Regions from separate parts of the Homo sapiens genome. Here regions 1, 3 and 4 are each linked to region 2. Evidence: promoter capture Hi-C in 16 types of primary human blood cells and fetal thymus (Javierre and others, 2016). All regions are on one chromosome and are shown on one strand. Each heading gives the region's core, a stretch centred on a gene start or on the middle of the fragment in contact. The rest is flanking DNA. Distances are from core to core; before and after follow the strand shown.

Region 1 (3,104 bases), core at 416-2,915, 1.7 Mb before region 2:
AAAAGGGGACGGAGTAGGAAGGTAATCTTCCCCTGAAGTCCGGCTGTCCCCAGCCAGACTCCTCTCTGAAGCTATGCCATCAAACTGTCCCTCTCAAGTCAAGCTACTTCTCTCTGGCATCCAACCGTAGCGTCTGATGTCCAGTGACTTCTCTTCTCTGCCAACTGAGTTCTGGGATTTTTATGGGCACAAGATGAGGGGTGGGGCAGGCCATGGATGGTTTTGGAAAAGGCAACATTCGTGTGGGAAAACAGGGATATAAGTTTTCACTTTGGGCTGTGGTATCACACTTGAGGGTGGGATTTTTTCAGGGACCCGCCCTTTTCTACCTAGAATTTCCCTGCCTCCTGCCTCTATCATTGTATCACTGGGACCTCCAGGTGCAATAATTGTCTTCCTTCCAAGCCTCATTCTCAGTTTCTCCTGTGGCCTCACTAACTTTCCTATTCTATATCAAACATTTACATGCTTAGAATAAGACTAATAATATGTGTCCACTTATGGTGAACAAAATACACCCACCCACTCCCCCCACAACAAGAGAAGTTAATGCCCTAATCCCTGGAAACTTCAAATATGTTACCTTACAGGGCAAAAAGGACTTAGCAAATATAAATAAGGTCACAGACCTTAAAATAGGGAGAAAATCCTGGATTCTCCAGGTAGGCCATATTTAATCTGTGGAGTCATCAGAAACAGAGAACTTTCTCTGGTTCTCTGGAGTAGAAGAGACACAGCAAAAGAGGAAGTCAGAGAAATCCAAAGCATGAAGAGAACTCAGCCCTGTGCCATTGCTTGTCTGAAGATGGAGAGGTCAATGGGACAAGGAATGCAGGCTGCCTGGAGGAGCTGGGAGAGACTCCCATGTGACAACAGCAGGCAAAAAAAAAAAAATGGAACCTCAGCCTTATAACTGCAAGGAACTGAATTCTGCCAACAACCTGAATGAGCAGCTTGGAAGTGGATTCTCCCCAAGAGCCTCCAGATAAGAGCCCAGGCTGGCTGACATCCAGAGTAAGGAAATCAGTCAAGCCAATGCAGACCTCTGACCTGCAAAGTTCTGAGATTGTACATTCATGTTGTTTTAAGCTTCTAAATTTGTAGTAATTTGATACAATAGCAATAGACAATGATATGCCATTCTTAAAGGCAAAAACAAAAACAAAGAAATCCAACAACTCCAGGGCAGGCAAATCCTATGTTTCTCTTAAGGGTCATGGTTTCTTTGGGAATTATGCTTTAATTTCTAGGCATAAGAACAATATTATTTTCTTATTGGGTACCATTGCACACATTTAGAAAAAGAAGAAATGAATATGGAATATTGATGTGGTCAATGATCTTGTCTGTTATTAGATCACATTTCCAGTGGGCAGTGTGGAAGGAGGTATTGTGAGATAATAAAACCCTGATTAGTATATGAATATAATATTTACACAAAAGTTATCATTAAGGTGCAATCTCAGTGTAAATTGGAGACTAGACTGTGCCCTACCACATGAAAATGGGATATGGGCTGTAAGCTTTTATATTTCTTTGTGGCAGACACCATAATCCCATTCAGCTTCTGTATATGAAAAGTTTAAGAAGTAGAATTAGGTATGAAGACATTAAGTAAGTAAAGTGACAAAGCATTATTAGGATGCTCAAAGGGTGTTTCTCAGTGGTGAGAAGGGGATGAGTTTCAGCCAGGGATAGAGTGGAAAAGCAGACAGCCCAGTTATAACCTACGAGTCTCTTTTTTTTGGCTAGAATGGAATATACCTCCCACACCGTCAGAAATTCAAATATAACTTTTGATTCCCCTAAAGCTTTACTAATAGCCTACTGTTGACCAGATGACTTGCCAATAACATAGTCAATTAACACATATTTTTATGTGTTATGCATCGTATACTATATTTTTACAAAAATGTAAGCTAGAGAAAAGAAAATGTTACCAAGAATATCCCAAGGAAGGGAAAATACACTTACCATTCGTTAAGTAGAAGTTGAGCATCCTAAAGGTCTTCATCCTCCTTGTCTTGACATTGAGAAGGCTGAGAAGGAGGAGGAAGAGGAGGGGTTGATCTTGCTGTCTCAGAGGTGGCAGAGGCAGAAGAAAATCTGCATGTAAGTGGGCCTGCACTTTCAAACCTGTGTTGTTCCGAGGGTCAACTGTGTATATATTTTCAAAGATTTACTTTGAAAATCCTTTGTAAACTATTTGTATTGTTTTCTATGGTTTTCTTTTTTTCTTCCTTTTTGTTATTAATGAATTTTCCATTTAAAAATACCTTTTGGTGGCTGGGCACGGTGGCTCACACCTGTAATCCCAGCACTTTGGGAAGCCGAGGCGGGTGGATCATCTGAGGTCAGGAGTTCGAGACCAGCCTGGCCAACATGGCGAAACCCCATCTCTACTAAAAATACAAAAATTAGCTGGGTGCGGTGGCGGGCACCTGTAATCCCCAGCTACTCGGGAGGCTGAGGCAAGAGAATCAGTTGAACTTGGGAGGCAGAGATTGAGGTGAAGTCGTGCCACTGCACTCCAGCCTGGGCCACAGAGTGAGACTCCGTCTCAAAAAAAAAAAAGTAAAGCAATTTTCAGTGAGCTGTGGCATATAAAACAGGCAATCATTTATGAAGCTGGAGTACCAGCATGAAAGGTTAAGAAAATATAGTTTTAAAAATAATGGTCCCAAATTTACCAAGGTTAATAAAAACTGTAAAACCACAGATTCAAGAAGCTCAGAAACTCTATATAGAAAAATAACAACAAATTCAGGAGAATCACAATCAAATTTCTAAAAACTAGCAATAAAGAGAAAAGTCTTACATGTAGCTCAAGGAAAAGGACATATTACAGAAAGGGAACAGAGTTATGAATGAGAGCAGACTTATCAGGAACTAAGCAAGCCAACAGAAAATTGGGTGACACTTTCACAGTATTGAAGGAAAAATATTAACAATATGCATTGTGGGCTGTATAGCAAATATAAAAATAAAATATGCAACATAATAATACAAAAGATAGGATAGGGTGCATGGAAGTATACCATCATAAGGTTCCTAAACTGTAGTGAAATGGCTTAATATTATTTGAAGGTGGATTATGATAAGTT
Region 2 (3,262 bases), core at 523-3,022:
TAACATCTTTTCCCCCTTGCAGCTTCAAATGAATATCAAGAGCCAGGTTCACAAGTTGGATTCCCTTTAAAGACACGTTTGATTGCAAAGCTTTGTTGACTCTGTTTGATATCCTCCGCGAACTGCATGACTGAGCTAAGCTGAAGTTCCTGGTCACCAGCATGGGGAACGGGTAGCTGCTTCAGCGCCTGCTGGCAGAGAGGTCGTTCTCCGAGTCTGCTTTGCCACCTAGTGGTTTGATGTGGTATTGCCATTCACCAGGTAGTTTTAAAAGTCATTTTAGCCGTTGAATGCTATAGTGAATTATGACAGAAAACAGAGACACTCTAAGCAAAGAAGGCAGTCAGAGACCCAAAACAAGCCCTGAAAAATGACGCAGACTGGATTACAAATAGGGAAGAGGCACTAAATAGTTGGTCTGAGAAAAAACGCACGGCTGTATGTTGCAAAGATATTTTGGGTTTTTCCCATATCATCACTTAAAAAAATAATTATTATTATAGACGTAGAATTAATTTAGACTTCTAGAAAAATTTATACGCTTTTAATTGGTTCAGCAGGTTTAAAAATCGAGAGCCCTCAAACATTTTTCCCAAGTAGGTACTGCCCGGTTGGCTCAGAGGACATGAAATGAGTTTATCTCCTTGGAATTCATTATAACCAGAAGCCTCACATGTATATTGGCCTTGTCCGTTTCTGTAAGCAATCTCACATGTATTTCACACTGGATATTTACACATTTTTAAATTTTTTAAATTTACCTATATATTTCACAGACTTATAACCCCAGAAAAGTTATTTTTTGCCATAACTAGGGGGAAGAAGGCAAATTTCCTAGAACTAACCTTCAATTTCTCCTAAATTCAGTACTGTCAAACTTTTTTGTCTTTTTTCACATTTTTTGTTTCACCCTCTTCTTTTAAATATTAATAAAAGATGTCAAAATATCCACTGCAGTGGCTTTCCAACATTATTCAACACAAAATACATTGTACGTACATCATGACTATAGACATAATTTTATACGTGTGTGTATGTCGAGCAAAAATTTAATGAAGTGATATTGATTGTCATTATGTGGTATGCATTCTGATACGTCCTATTCAATTTGCTGTACATTTTTTTCTTTTTTAATTCTCATATTGGCCCACTAATTGGCTCTTGCATTTTGAACTCAGTGTGTGTGTGTGTGTGTGTGTGTGTGTGTGTATATACACACACGCATATATATCTATTGAATTTAGTGTGTGTGTATATATACATAAATACATATATACATATATAAACACATATACATATACACACATATACATATATACACACATATCTATACACATGTATGTATATGATATGTATATACATACGTATATATGTGTGTATATATACTCACACACATGTATATATACACACATACCAAGTTCAAAATGCAACAGCCAATTAGCGGACCAATTAGTGTGTGTGTGTAGTGTGTGTGTATATATATAGTAAGTTCAACATGCAATGTATATATACACTAAGTATATGTACATTGTATATAAGTAAGTATACTAAGTACATAGTATATATACACGATATAAGTACACTAAGTATATCGTATATATATACTAAGTATATATACATACACACAGATGTAACTTCCCCACAAAGGCACTGATGGTACCCACGTGCAGGATCTTGCGCAGTTTTCCACTTCTTGCCTGAGCTCTGGTGCCTGGAACACTTCAGTAACCATTCCCTGAATGTTGCACCCACAACCTGGCAGGGAGGGAGCCTGCTCTGACCCCAGAGAGGAGCCAGGCACCTGCCCCTGGTCTGCCCCTATCTGACCATGCCCTGAGCCCTCATGCAGGCTGCATTCCTAGAACTCTTGCCTGGGATTACTTATAAAGTGCGAAGGTCACTGGGCTGACAAGGATCTCTGTTCCCACCACCTGTTTATTCCTGAGCATTACAAGGAAAGACTTCCTGTAGGTCCCCTCACCAATATCATTCAATTCAATGAGTGTAGACTGTGAACTTCCTTGACTCAAAATATCCTAATGCTATGGAATAGCTGTTGAGTCAGGATGAGGAAGGAATATTAAACATAGGAATGATACCTTCTACTCAGAAAATCACCGTAAACTGAGGGCTCTTAGCCCGGGGTTATCACTGCTTCATTTGGGTCTGACCTACAGTCTTGATTCTCAGGAAGTTACATATTACCTATGAAATAATAGATATACCTGAAGTAAAACATTTGGTGACTCTCATTTCTAATAAGTACTTTTAGATATTCTTTTTTTTTTTTTTTTTTGAAATCCTTATGACCGGCTGATCACTTTCTCCTGTTGTCATCCTGGGTACCGATAGGACCTCCGTTGCTGAGCCTCCAGAGAACAGTCCTTTTAATGAGGCCGTGGCCCCAAGGCCTCGGAGAAGTTCATAGAAAATGTCTGAAAGAAGGTGGGAGGGATCTTGTTTCCTGGCCCTATAGGGACATTGTCTTCCTTGATAAAGCTGGGTACAGCCTTGATATGAATAGATTGGGGAGCACCAGGAATGTACCTCACCTGGGCTGTCGAGAAAAGACAGTGTGCTCAGAAGAGGTATGGCAGGTGCTGAATATTCCCTTGGAGGGACGAAGGCAAGAAAGGCCCCTACAGCAATGAGGGGAGAAAATCCACAACCCAAGTAGAACTAGGATTTCTTATGTGTGAGACAATACATTGCTCATTTACATGTAAAGTGTGTATAATATTTTTAATCCATCGTATTCAGGCGAGCAAGATCAGTCATTTCATTTTTGTATAACTTGCCTCGAAGCTGCCTGTTGTGGCCCCATTCTGCATAGCAAATCACCACAAACTTAGCAGCTTACAACAAGGTTCCCTGTTCAGGGTCTCAACACTGAAATCAAGGTGTTCGCCCAGCTGAGTTTACGTCTTAGGCAAGACTAAGGAAGAATTCATTACCACAGGCATTCAGGTCATCGGTGCTTCTGCCATGGTGACCTAGTGACCTCTGAGCAGCTGCCACCTCTGGGCACCAGACAGGAGGGCATGAGGCACGCATCTTCTTTGAGTCTGATCAATATTATCAGATGCGACCTCTTTTTCCTCCAACCTTCTCCGCATTTAAAAGCAACAGCAGAGTGTAAGGCAAGATTCCAAGCCCTCCTTGGCAACCATCACCAATATCTGCCCCCTTTTAACTCTCTTCTTCACTTCCTTCTGGCTTCGGAAACTTTGGGATTTTTTTTTTTTTCCTCATTCGGGACATT
Region 3 (3,346 bases), core at 441-2,940, 1.7 Mb before region 2:
TTTGTGTGAACTTCTTACCATTATCTGTTTTTGATTTTTATATGTAAGGAAAAAAGAGAAAGAAGACAGCTTGCCTTCTCTTTATCCAGTCTCTGGAGAGAAATTAAAGTGGGCACATGAAATGCATTGATTAGTAAATATAGCCGATACCCACATATTCCAGCTGGTCTTCTCTCAGCTTCTTGTATTCCAGTTCCACTGAAAAAAAGTTTGACATTGGGTATATATGTAGTAGATTGAAAAATGGTCTCCCGAAAGATATCAGGTCCTAATCCCTGGAAACTATCTGTTACCTTACTTGAGATACAGGGTCTTTGCAGATGCGATTAAGCTAAGGATCTTGAGATGGGGCAAGTGTTCTGGATTATCCTAGTGGGTCCTGAATGCCATCACAAGTGTCCTTATAAGAGAGAGGCAGGCTAGATTTCATAGACAGATGAGAAAAAGGCAATGTGAAGATAGAGGCAGAGATTGGGCTGATGTGGCAATGCAACAAGACATAGCAACAGCCACCTGAAGCTGGAAGAAGCAGGCAACAGATTTTCCCCTCAGTCCTCCTCAGAGACCATGCAGAGACAAAGCAAGAGACTTGAAGATTGGAGTGATGTGGTACAGACGAAAAGAATGCTGGAAGTCACCAGAACTGAAAGAAAGCAAGGGGATGGACAGAGCCTCTCCTAGACCTCTGAAGAGAGTGAAGCCCTGCAGACACCTGGATTTCAGCCCAGTGATACTGATTCCAACTTCAAGTCCCAGAATGGTGAGAGAATAAGTTTCTCTTAAAAACTAAATTGGTGATTGTTTGTTACAAAAGCCGTGAAAAACTAACACTGTGTGTAGAGAAACAAGTGATTCAAAAGGTTAGACAGAGGGCAGATGCTGAGACATGGTGGTATCCCAAGCAAATTCCCAATCCCTAACTCTATACTAGAACCGACAGAACACCTGGGACTAACTCAAAGGGGAAAGTAAGGACCTGGATCAGCTGGAAGGACCCTTTCTAATTGCAGATGTGTTGCGAATTTTGTTTCTGAAGAGTTCCAATAGTTGAGAGAACTCTCTGTAGAGCAACAGACTTCAGTAGTCTATGGGGGTAGTGGGGATGGGACTGTCAGGAAGAATGCTTTTGGAGACCAGACTGAGAAGCTTTTTTCACTATGTTTTTAGAAAGAAGAGTCTGACCCAAATTCTTAAAAAAAATCAGAATAGATTTGCCAAATTTCTTTATGTGTCTGGGACTATGTGAAATGTACGTAAGTAGATTTACATTTGCGGAATCAAGCTTTCTATTACTTAAAAGCTGCAGCAAATACCCTAAATGAAGACATATAAATAATCATTTGGTGATATGATAGAGACTGTTAGTTGTTTACCAAAATCTAAAACGAATCTATTTCTTCTACTGGAATACGAATAGATTACATTTCCCTGCTTCAACTGAACTTAGATGTGAGACCCAACTCATGTCATTGAGTTCTACTGAGTGGATGCAGATCAAGATAAATAGTAGAAGGAGAAGAGATCAGGAGAAGACACACAAAATGACAGTCATTTCCACTCAGATTCTATTAGATAGAACTCAAAGATGATGGAGCCACAGGTGGATGAGATGTAGGTCTCTAAATCACCATTTGGAGCAAAACCACTGATGACCTGGAAAACCTGCAGCAGAGTATCGTAAAATAATAAATTTCTATTGTAATAAGACACACAGGTATTTTAGGTTCATTTGCTGCTACAGTCTTGCCTAATATACAGAAATAGGCATTTTTATATAAGCCGCTGCTCTAACAATAACAATATGGATAACTGAAAGTGGAAATGGATATCATACTCTGAAAAGTTGACAAAGTTTGGTCTAATGTTTAGTAAAACAGTCACGTGTACTAACTTGCAAGGCAGGCTGGGTGACTCTAGGAGAAGTGGTTGGAAAGTGTAGTATGGACTTTTACTTTTTACTTTAGTAAGGCATTACATCTAAGGTGAGGTGAAGTGGGAATTTGCAGGTTTGTGGAAGAAGAAATAAAGAGTAGAGATATTTGGGGCCTTACACAATTGGAAAACAAAGTACTTTGAACTTCCAAACAGTGGGAGTTAAGGAAGCTTTCTCTCTTTACCAGCCTATGTTTTAGATGGTTTTAAAGTAGCTGCCATTAAGGTGAGAACTAGAAAGGTAGAGATGGGGCAAAAAAAAATCAGGATAATAGAGAAGACCTATTATCTTTTTCCAGAAAGGTAATTTGATTATGGATAATGAAACATGGAACTGATTGGAAGCACAGAGGAAATCTACTAAACTTTAGAGGGATTCACATTGCTAAAGAGACCACAAGCCTGGCTTTAAAATCTTGTGACTGCTTAAGCCTTAAAATAATCTGTAGGCCTTTGTACTTGCACAGGGTCACTTAGAGACATCATGAAAATGCAGATTCCCGGCCTCAACCACCAAGGATACTACGTGGCACATGAAAAATGCTGCCCTTCTCACCCCAAAGATGTCCAGAACCTAATCCCCAAAACTGTGACCATGTAATATATAATATGTAGTAATTTATTTTTAATTTCTCCCAAACCTCCAATATTCAAAAACTAAACTAACCTCTTCTTTTTTTTTCTTTTTTCTTTTTTTTCTTTTTTTTGAGACGGAGTCTCGCTCTGTCACCAGATTGGAGTGCAGTGGCATGATCTCGGCTTACTGCAACCTCTGCCTCCCAGGTTCAAGTGATTCTCCTGCCTCAGCCTCCCCAGTAGCTGGGATTATAGGCACCTGTTGCCGCACCCAGCTAATCTTTATATTTTTAGTAGAGACGGGATTTCACCATGTTGGCCAGGCTGATCTTGAACTCCTGACCTCAGGTGATTTACCTGCCTCGGACTCCCAAAGTGCTGGGATTACAGGCATGAGCCACCGTGCCTGGCCACTAATCTCTTCCTTATACCTGTAACAGCTCTGTGCCAACTACATGCATATATCTGTGCATACACAGGCAGACACACGTTGCCTTTCTTGTACATTTCAACACTATTAGCACCCAATTTCTTGTGATCAGTGCCACATAGACACAAACCCACTGCTGAATGGCTTTTCTTCACAACAATCTATGGCTCGTGCCAGCATGAGGAGAAGCCCATGCAGACAGCTGTGCTCACTTCACTCAGTGATCTGAACACTTCACTGACTGTCTTCGGCTCATTTGTTGAACACTAAACCTTTTGGTCATGCATTGAAGATCCTCTGCCATCTAAACGTAAAACATTCTTCCAGTTTCATCTCTCATAGTAGTTTCTAAAAACATAGCTAACATTGTAGCCAAATTTGATGACTCTCAAGTTCAACCAAAATTCC
Region 4 (3,086 bases), core at 193-2,692, 1.6 Mb before region 2:
AAATCATAGCAAACTCAGAACGTATGGCAATAGGCCAAGGTCATCTTATTCAGATTTCAATCCTGTTATATTCTTGGAGAGATTTTTTTAAGTCATTTTCACTATAATACTTGTCTCAAAACTTGTAGGATCGGAGGATGTGCAGTCTGAGGCCCAAGTGAGTCCATGAGCATCAGCCTGGTTTGTTCATTCATTTGGGTTATGATGCTGCCTCGCTGAGCAATTCCTTATGGTAGGAGGGTCTAATAACCTTCACAGGCCACGGAGATGGAAATAAAGTGTAAAGCTGGAGAAAAAATCCAGTTGGCTACACAGGGGAACCAGAGTTATCAGAAGGGACAGTTAGTTTAAATATGGAGAAGACTCCTAACAAGAGGCTAGGTCGTGAATACAGATAAGACATTTTAAATAGCAAACATAACTCAGTTGTGTTAAATAATCGTAGAAATCGTTGGCTCCACTCAGAGACTAATAACTGAAACGTGTACAAGTGGTACAAGTTTCAGAGTAGTTTGATTAAGGCTCCAGCTCATATCTCCAATTCACTAGGCTCTTCCCTTGTTCTTGTATTCTTTTCACGTATATAATAAAATAGTTACAGTGGTTTCTGTTTCACTGCTACATATCACACCAGTCATAAAGAGGGTGAGCATCTGGGCTCCCAAACACAGAGAAAAGTCCTCAAACTTCACTCATTGCATCCGTTTAGATGATGGGGCTAACCCTAAATTTACTTTTGTCCAGGGGGAGTGGAGTGCTCTAATTGGCCTCACCTAGATCATGGGTTTCACATCAGAAAATATATATTTCTCCTACACATTATGAAATCCTCTATAGAAATCTGGCGTTATAGCTGGTGGTAGGGACAATGGACGGGGAAAGGCGACCAATAGGCCTCACCAAAGGTAGGGTGTCCTTCTGGATATTGAAGATATTTAATCTTTGTGGCAACTCAAGCAAACCAACCAAAATTTGCATAGTAAATATTTGTAGTTAGCCTCCAATTTGTTTGTTTACTTCTTATCAGCATTTCAAATGTCTTCCAAAGGCATTAATACAATCTTTTATCTTGTTTATCATGTTCATTTTCTAGGCACACTGCCTTTTATGAATCAAATTAAACTTCATTATGCGTCTAGTCTGTGCTCACATTCCAAATTTGTGTTGTCTCAACGAAGAAGACCTGGCTTTATTTGACACGCTAGATATAATATCCGAAGAACTAATAGAGTATAAAATGTAAACTGTCATGAAAATAGTGGCAATAGCTAACTAATTTCCAAACATCAGTTTTCAGCGTAAATATTCCTTTTTCAGAGAGATGTTTGCTAACCATTCTATCTAGGAGAAATCTCCTTCTATTATTCACATCAGTTCTTTATTTGTATGCTCATGCCACTCATCAGTGCCTTCTTCTCTAGATCACAAAGTAGCTACTTTGTTTCTTCCTTCTTTCCTTCCTTCCATCTTTTCCTAGAATGTAAGTTCCATCTGTCTTATCCATGGGCACATTTCTAGTAGTACTCAGCACAGTGCTTACCTTATAGGAGACACTCATGAATATTTGTTAAGTGAGCCTGTTGAATTACCTTTATTATGGTGTGTCCTGTGTGGCCCATGGCTATGTAGGTAATGGACCAAGACTCAGTTTTATAGGAGATAATTGTGCAGCAGAGGAAATCCAACCTGATGCGTGGGGCTGAGCCCCAGGAATGTGCTGCTCTTTGTATTTTGTTGTAACCAACTGAAACAGCCTTGGCTGACATTTGTAACTGTGAGCCTCTGAATAACACAAGTAAGTTCCTCCCAGGGGGGAAATCATATGCAAGAATGAAATGTATGATACATCTCGCCCAAACTGTTAACCACATATGAAAAGAAATCATCTCGGAAATTGGAAGTTTGTATTTGAATATTAGACACCTGTTTAATTATGGAGTGAAATGTCAAGGAAAAAAACCACAATTACTTTATACTCGGAACATAGAAAATATAGCCGAGATTTGACAGTCTCACTCCATCTGATTTTTCTATTCTGTCTTTCTCACTCCTGTCACATTTTATTTCACCATTTATCTGGAACAAATAAATGTGAAATTGCTTTCAACATTTTCCTGACCTTGTTCGGTAGATGAGTATTGAGGAAAAATGGGACTTTGGTTTTCTACATGGAATGAGCTTATTGTAGCTCTTTGTGTTACGGCAGTTCCTTTTAGGAGAATGTGTCACTCTTTATTGAATGCAAATGAGCTTCATGAGTAATGTTCAAATCCAAAAAAAGATGAATGCCAGTGGAAGCAGCTAGTGTCTCTCTATCCTTTTTTCTTTCATATATTTTGAGATTTTTGGATAGTAGAAAAGAAAAATGTTATTTTGAAATATCTCTTTTTTCTTGTAATGAGAGAAGAAAGCTAAATTCCCTGTATGTAAGAATATAAATTTGATAGAAGTAATAATTTTAAATTGGGCAGTAAATGAGCCAGTGATGTGGTGTTGTGGTTATTCTGCCTGAACTTAATAAGACTATGAAATAAAAATATCCTCCACATAATAAACTAAGAGAATTAAAGAAAGAGTTTTCCCTATTAATTCTAACATGAGTCATATGAACTAGTTAGGGCTTGACTATATAATTGCATTTACTAATGAAAAAGTGTCATAGCGTAAATCCCTTTACCTTTACTCTGTCTTGTATCTTTAGAATTTAGTTTCAATAACATCATAATACTTTACTCATACTAATGAGTGATAGAATAAGCATGCAAAATTGTATTTATACAATGGATTACAGTTTTAATTTCATTTTGTCCTCCCAGCCATTGGTAGCAGATATTATTCTTTCATTAGATTCCAAGACATTGAGAGGCAAGATGGTCAAAGACCAGCTCAAAATGACACTGGTGAATCAGTGGCAGAGATAAGGCATGAATCTAGGAGTTCTGAACATCTAGGAGTCTATTTTTCCCCCCACTACCTAAAGTGCTACTTTCCATTCATGGTGAAGTCAAATGAGTCAGAAACAGACTGAGATGCCCGTCCTCAGTGTCATACTCTGCCTGCCATGTAGATGCCTCCATTGTGGCTGT

The links. Contacts are between HindIII fragments. The CHiCAGO score rates a contact against its expected background, and 5 or more counts as called.
Region 1: a contact is called between a fragment that was not itself captured here and the fragment with the promoter of CHRM3-AS1 in region 2, in 1 of 17 cell types (total B cells). The highest score is 8.8, in total B cells.
Region 3: a contact is called between a fragment that was not itself captured here and the fragment with the promoter of CHRM3-AS1 in region 2, in 1 of 17 cell types (naive B cells). The highest score is 6.7, in naive B cells.
Region 4: a fragment that was not itself captured here is called in contact with the fragment with the promoter of CHRM3-AS1 in region 2 in 1 of 17 cell types (naive B cells); the score reaches 13.4 in naive B cells.

The regions. Positions count from the first base shown.
Region 1 is chr1:238,235,010-238,238,113 of GRCh38, forward strand. No RefSeq gene overlaps it. Among named protein-coding and RNA genes, the nearest start is that of LINC01139, 250 kb to the right of the region's middle. The HindIII fragment of the contact is 288 bases long and covers 1,522-1,809 here.
Region 2 is chr1:239,898,100-239,901,361 of GRCh38, forward strand. CHRM3-AS1 (CHRM3 antisense RNA 1) reads right to left here and starts at 1,773. Exons shown (of 2, transcript NR_046582.1): 1 at 1,665-1,773; 2 at 1-293. The region is part of intron 6 of CHRM3 (cholinergic receptor muscarinic 3); the gene reads left to right. The HindIII fragment of the contact is 7,774 bases long and covers 89-3,262 here.
Region 3 is chr1:238,218,754-238,222,099 of GRCh38, forward strand. No RefSeq gene overlaps it. Among named protein-coding and RNA genes, the nearest start is that of LINC01139, 270 kb to the right of the region's middle. The HindIII fragment of the contact is 821 bases long and covers 1,281-2,101 here.
Region 4 is chr1:238,253,415-238,256,500 of GRCh38, forward strand. No RefSeq gene overlaps it. Among named protein-coding and RNA genes, the nearest start is that of LINC01139, 230 kb to the right of the region's middle. The HindIII fragment of the contact is 9,275 bases long and covers 1-3,086 here.